Linked DNA regions of Homo sapiens: region 1 is linked to region 2. Evidence: promoter capture Hi-C in 16 types of primary human blood cells and fetal thymus (Javierre and others, 2016). All regions are on one chromosome and are shown on one strand. Each heading gives the region's core, a stretch centred on a gene start or on the middle of the fragment in contact. The rest is flanking DNA. Distances are from core to core; before and after follow the strand shown.

Region 1 (3,562 bases), core at 905-3,404, 3.1 Mb before region 2:
ACTGCATTTCAGCTTGGGTGACAGAGCAAGAACTTGTCTTAAAAAAAAAAAAGAAAGAAAGAAAGAAAAGAAAAAGCGGGAATTGCTAAGGAAATAAAATACATTCAATATTATAAATTAGGCAGAAATTAAAATAAATACATTTGATCTACATTAGTTAGGCTTAGTAATGTCCACAATGCAGTATAAAGAGAAAAAAGTAAATTGCAATATAATGTAGGATTTCAGTATGTCATTTCAAACAAAACAGACAACAAAACCCTGAAAAGACAATTGAAAGTAAGTCACAAAACCCAGAAGTCATAAGAGAAAAAGAAACAATTTGACTAAATATAAATTAAAGCTTCTGTACAATAAAAGACAACATAAAGTTACAAGGCAAGACATAGACTTTAAGACAAAATACTTGCTATTCATATGCAAATAATAAATATATAGAATATGTAAAGAATATCTGTAAATGAATTAGAGAATTGGTAAAGGATATCAAGTAATTCACAGAAAAAATATGAATAGCTAATAAATACATGCAAATATATACAATCTCACTAGTAAGTGGAGAAATACCAATTTAAAAAATGAAACTATTTTTCAATCATCAAATTGACAAAAATTCACTATGATTGGTAATATACCCTGTAGTCAAGCATGTGAGTAAATAAAAACTCTCATATACTGATGAGAATATAAATTGGCAAATCCTTTTTGAAACATAATTTTTAATCAAAATATTAATGCTTGTACACTTTGCTCCAGTATTCCATTTCTAGGAAAATAAAGAAAATAAAACTAGCAAATATGTCAAAAGATGAATATACAGGTATGTCTATTTGAGTATTGTAGATAATAGCAAATAATTGAAACCAACATGAATGCTCCTTAGTAGAAAAGTGGCCAAATTATAGTGAACTATCCTATGGAACAATAGTGCAGCTATAAGAAGAATGAGGGAGATCTATTTGTACAGATAGGCAAAGATCTCCAAGATATATTTTATGTGTAAAAGCCAGTCACAAAATAACACATAAAGGAAGATTGCATTTTGTAAATGTATGTGTATGTTTACATATGTATATAAATTAATAGAAAAATTACTTACTAGAACATATGCTTTAACTTGTCAACACTTCTTTGGGAAGTTAGTGACAGTAGATGAGAGGATTAGGTTGTCAGTGAAGAGTATTATATTTAATTCTACAGACCCAAGGGCATTGTTTGAATTTTTATAACAATATGATGGATATGTTTCTTTAATTTTTATTATTTTTACCCAGGAAGAGACAGTCTCCAGCATGTGCTGAAAGTGCTCTCTCTTCCATGTTTCTTTTTTGAGATGGAGTCTCACTCTGTCACCCAGGCTGGAGTGCAGTGCTGCGGTCTCGGCTCACTGCAACCTCCGCCTCCCAGGTTCAAACGATTCTCCTGCCTCAGCCTCCTGAGTAGCTGCGACTACAGGCGTGTGCCACCACGCCCAGCTAATTTTTTGTATTTTTAGTAGAGACAGAATTTCACTATGTTGGCCGGGCTGCTCTCGAACTCCTGACCTCGTCATCTGCCCGCCTCATCCTCCCAAAGTGCTGGGATTACAGGTGTGAGCCACCGCGCCCGGCCCTCTTCCATGTTTCTTACGTAATTTATTAAAACATATTTTAGTTTGTTGACTTGCTTACAAAAAGGTGTGTCTTAAACCTCTCTACAATTCTACATAGAGATAATTGTCATTCACTGTGTTAAAACAGAAATAAAGACAGAGAAATACGTATATTCAAGGATGCCAATAAATGTTAATATCTAAAATTGGATTGTGATAATTGTTGCAAAACTCTGTGAATATATTAAAATACACTGAATTATATGCTTTAAATAGATACATTTTATAGTATGTGAATTATATTTTAATGAAGCAGTTAAAAATCAATGGTTTGATGTTTTAGTATTCAGTGACAAATGGCTTTAAGATGTAAGCAATAATTTCCAGTATATTTAAAAGATATTTACAATGGATATTTCTAGTTCACCCCCCTGTCAACTATTAGAAAACATTTTTATATTTTAAATCCTTGAAATAACTGAGTGAAGGTCGCTTCACAGGAGAAGTCACTGTGGTGTAGATGAGAAGGTTACTAGGTGAGGCAGAGTTGGAAGAGGCATTCTTTTCAAATGGAAATCTCTGGAAACTTCAGAAAGCAAGTATGAGGTAGGGAAATTTGCCTGGTGTATTAGTCTGTTCTCACACTGCTAATAAAGACATACCCAAGACTGGGTGATTTATAAAGGAAAGAGGTTTAATGGACCCGCAGTTCAGCATGGCTGAGGAGGCCTCAGGAAACTTACAAGCATGGTGGAAGGGGAAGTAAACACGTCCTTCTTCACAAGGCGGCGAGAGAAAGAAGTGCAAAGCGAAGTAGGGGGAAGCCCCTTATAAAACCATCAGAAACCATCAGATCTCATGAGAACTCACGATCACAACAGCAGCAGCACGGGGATAACCGCCCTCACAATTCAATTACCTCCCACCAGGTCCTTCCCACAACGCGTGGAGATTATGGGAACTACAATCCATGATGAGAGTTGGGTGGGGATACAGCCAAACCATATCACCTGGTCATTTTCTTTTTAAGGCTTCACATATAAGTGAGATCCTATAGCATTTGTCTTTCTGTGTCTGGCTTATTTCACTTAGCATAATGTTCTGCAGGTTCATCCACATTGTTGCAAGTGGCAGGATTTCCTTCATTTTTAGTTCTGAATCGTATTCCATTATGTATATATACAACATTCTCATCATTCATCCATCACAGCACACTTAAATTGTTTCTGTATCTTAGCTCTTGTGAACAGTGCTGCAATGAAAAGTTGAACTCATAGAAGCAGAGAGTAGATGATGGTTGCCTGGGGCGAAGGGGTAGGTAACTGGGGAGGTATTAGTCAGAGTACAAACATTCATAAGATGAATATATTCTGAGGGTGCAAAGGATAGCATGGTGACTGTAGCTAATGATACTGTATTGTGTGCTTGCAATTTACTAAGAGTCTATCAGTTGTTCTCACCACACACACAGAAAAGGTAAACATGTGAGGTGACAGATGTGTTAGTTAACTTGATTGTGGTTACTGTTTCAGAATGTATACATATATCAAATCATCACGTTGTACATCCTAAATATAAACCATTTTCATTTGTTTACTATACCTCAATAAAGCTGGAAAAATAGAATTTAGACCTGTGTGTCTTGTTTGCACACGTAGAGGTCACTTCACAGTTTTATAAATTATCAACTCTTAGTGACACAAAGGAGCAACAAAAGCAAAATATCAAGTCTGTAGTCATCTCATTAGATAAAATTACCAACTGCTCATTTTTTTTTTTTTTTTTTGCCACACAACATACTATAACATGAAAATGGCCGGGCACAGTGGCTCACGCTTGTAATCCCAGCACTTTGGGAGGCCGAGGCAGGTGGATCACGAGGTCAGGAGATCGAGACAATCCTGCCTAACACAGTGAAACCTCGTCTCTATTAAAAATACAAAAAATTAGCCGGGCGTGGTGGCGGGCGCC
Region 2 (3,592 bases), core at 389-2,888:
GAAATAGTAGCCCAGCCCCCAGGGACATCCAGACTCGTGGGGGCAAAGGCATTTGTGAACAGGTCTCATGAGTGTTGTGGAAACACTTCAAAGCAGTTTTTATATTGTACAGTAAAGACATCGGACCCCATGGCTGCTCAAACAAGTGAATCTACAGAGGTGATTAAGTTCTAATTTAGGTTTGTTTTTTTTTTTAAGACACAGCCTTACTCTGTCACCCAGGCTGGAGTGCAGTGGCACGATCTCAGCTCACTGCAATCTCTGCCCCCCTGGGTCCAAGCAATTCTCATGCCTCAGCCTCCCAAGTAGCTGGGACTACAGGCGTGTACCACCACACCTGGCTAATTTTTGTATTTTTAGTAGAGACGGCATTTTACCATGTTGGCTAGGCTTGTTTTGAATGCCTGACCTCAGGTGATCCACCTGCCTCAGCCTCCCAAAATGTTGGGATTACAGGCGTGAGCCACCACACCTTGCTTAATTTAGGTTTTCTGTCATCCAAAATTTGTGCAGTCAATTTACTAGCCTTTCAGATTTAAAAACCACAAACATCACAATAAGTACTTAAGCACCCACAGTAGCCAGACTACTAAGGCCATGGTTATTGTATTTTTGGAGTACATGCCAGAAGAAAAGGTCATAACCCATAGATAGGTATCTAGTGTGTAGGTGTCAGCAGACACACCACACACAGCCAGGAAGGCTGAAGAGATTAGAATCACAACGCTGGGAAAGGCCTTTGAGATTCTTAGCTTGGGGTCCACGGTTGTACTTCAGGGACCCCAGAAACTCCCTGAGGTTATAAGCAAAATTGTATCGCTGCCTTTTTTCTTCAGAAAGGCTCATGGCTTTTGTCAAATTCTCAAAGGAGACTGTGACCTAAATAAAATATTTTTTAAAAATGGTTACGAGTCCTTGATCTAATTCCAGTATCTAGAGAAAATGGGAGCTATGTTTGGCTCACACAGTAAATTTATGGCAGAGACGGGTATTAAAGCCCCACTCGTGACTACATCTGTGCTTTTTGCCATCCTGGGCGCTAGAGGGAATTGCGCTGCAATTCATTAAATTGCCTCTCAGTCTCAACAGATGACAAACCCCTTGCCCTTGCCTCTGATTTAAGGTAAGATAATTTGGGCTGCGAGCAGGGTGCATCTTGGAGCGGGGAGACCTTGACATCAAACAGGAAGAGTCTTACCGGGACAAGGAGACAACAGCCCAGAGAGGCTGTCACCCAGGGTAGGTGTGCAGTCACAGTGAGGTCCCAAGGACTAAGGGCTATGACCCTAAGAGTCTCGGCTTCTGTGTAACTCACCCAAGTCACTTCCCTGGTCTACGACCCAGTTTCCCAAATGTGTAAAGGGTCCTTTAGACCTCGCCCTAAAAGGTCAGGGGCGTGGCTTAAAGAGGACCGCGCTTCCCGGGCCCCGACCCCAGACCCTACATCGTGTGTGACGCCCGCCGCCGCCGAGCAAGCCGCAGTGAGGTCATCGCCCTCCGCCTCGGGGGCGGGACCCTGGCGTCTCAGGGCGGGGCTTGTGGTCGAGCTTCGCGGTGCCACCGCCCCGCCCACGCCTCCTCGCCGGCCTCCGAGTGCGTCACGTGACGGGTCGGTGGCGCTGGCGGTTGCTGTCAGCTGATTCCCGGGGTTGGTGGCAGCGGCGGTAGCAGCAATGGACTTTCTCCTGGGGAACCCGTTCAGCTCTCCAGTGGGACAGCGCATCGGTGAGTCCCTGGAGCCCCCCACAGCTCCGCCCCGGTGCTCCGCACCCAGCTTCGGTCCCCTGGGAAGCCTCCGGGTGCCTAGTCACGGAGGCAGGGAGGGCAAGGAGGCTGGCGTGTAGCTCTCCGACCTGGCTCCGCCCAGCTTTCCTCCCACTCTTGATTGACAAGAACTTGGGCCATTAGGAAGCCTTGGCTTGTGATAGATGTATATGACAGCCAGTAGGTAAGGAGAGAGGGTGGGTCCGGATGCCCACGGCGCAGCCAATGTGCGTCTGCTGGGGTCCCCAATCGAGGGAGAAAGTTTTCGTGGTTAAAGGGACTGCGTGGTTGGCAGTGGCTGGGCCACTCTGCTGGGTCCCGCCGCCTGGGCTCTGGCCAGCTCCTTCCTGGCTCACCGGGCCCTCCGGACACAGACACCTGAGAAGGGCTAGAAGTCCCTTCTCCCAGGACCGCGAAGCCCCGGGCTTGGCGTCTTGGGGCCAACTGGCCAGAGGGGCCCAGCGCCGGACAGCCCGCGGCCAGGCCTCACAGACCCGGGTCTCAGGACGTGTCCGCCTGGGCTCTTTTCTCGACCCAACCTCAAATGGACCCGCACAGACTCTCAGAACCTGAGCAGACAGTGGTCGGACAAACCCTCCTGGTCAGCCCATCTCGGTGCTCCGTAGGTGGGGCAGCCGGGAACTCGGGCCAAGCCAAGCCCAGGGCACCTGGCGCCTGTCTGCTGGTCCGTGGTTCTCTGCACCCTGGTGACAGGATACTCACAGTTCTGTGACGCAGCCTCCCTGGGCCGAGGTTTCCTCACCTGTAGTTGGCGGGCAATAATGGTCCCCACCTCCGTGGGCTTGTTGTGAAGATTAAATTCCTTAATAAATGTGAAATACTTAGAACAATGCCTGGTACATGGCCAGTGCCATATAAAAAAAAACAGTTGTAATATTTATTATCACTGGGCTGGGCACGGTGGCTCCCGCCTGTAATCCCAGCACTTTGGGAGGCCAAGGCGGGCAGATCGCTTGAGCCCAGGAGTTCGAGACCAGCCTGGGCAACATGGCGAGACCCCGTCTCTACAAAAAAAAAAAAAAAAAAAAATACAGAAATTAGCCGGGCGTGGTGGTGCGTGCCTGTGCACCCAGCCACTCGGTAGGCAGAGCTGGGAGGATTTATTGGATCTGGGAGGTCAGGGCTGCAGTGAGCCCTGATGGCGCCACTGTACTCCAGCCTGGACGACGCAGGGAGAGCCCATCTCTTGAAACACATACACATACACACACACACACGCACACATATATATAAAAATATACACATACAAACATACATATACATACACATACATATATATTATATGTATTTACACACACACGTTGTTCCTGAGATCACCAAGTGAAGGTTAGGAATCCCTGGAAATCGCTTGGCAGTAGATCTCATAGGTGCTCATTCTTGGGCACCAACACCATGAGAACCGACATGCCTTCACCCAAACAGCCACACTTCTCCGGAGGATGGTTTGGGTGTTCCGCATTCTTGCATGAAGAAACCATCGCATTACCGTGAAATTACTCTTCATCTTTTTTGATGACGACTTTTCGTCTTAAGTCCAGACTGGGAAAACTTTAAGATGAGACATATTTTCCATTCTTAGTGTCTTGCGAAACCTCACGAAAGCTTGTCGACCCGGCTCTGTGTTGTAATCGCCACCGTGGCTGTCGGTGGCTCTTCCGAGGTTTTGTAATCAATGCTCTCCAAGGGGGAGGTGGCAGTCCAGGATTTACACACCAGGAAGCTCCTGAACCAGGGAGAGGAACTGCCCTCTCAAAGGACCCCTGCCCTCCCCGGACACACACCCACCCCACAGTGAGTCATGGTTTTT

Evidence for each region. Contacts are between HindIII fragments. The CHiCAGO score rates a contact against its expected background, and 5 or more counts as called.
Region 1: a fragment that was not itself captured here is called in contact with the fragment with the promoter of TOM1 in region 2 in 1 of 17 cell types (M1 macrophages); the score reaches 8.2 in M1 macrophages.

The regions. Positions count from the first base shown.
Region 1 is chr22:32,214,721-32,218,282 of GRCh38, forward strand. The region is part of intron 2 of SLC5A4-AS1 (SLC5A4 antisense RNA 1); the gene reads left to right. Among named protein-coding and RNA genes, the nearest start is that of SLC5A4-AS1, 11 kb to the left of the region's middle. The HindIII fragment of the contact is 3,626 bases long and covers 342-3,562 here.
Region 2 is chr22:35,298,256-35,301,847 of GRCh38, forward strand. TOM1 (target of myb1 membrane trafficking protein) reads left to right here and starts at 1,639. Exons shown (of 15, transcript NM_005488.3): 1 at 1,639-1,725. The coding sequence starts at 1,674. RefSeq lists enhancers at 1,214-1,736, 1,663-1,812, 1,737-2,259, 2,213-2,372, 2,783-3,304. The HindIII fragment of the contact is 3,434 bases long and covers 1-3,385 here.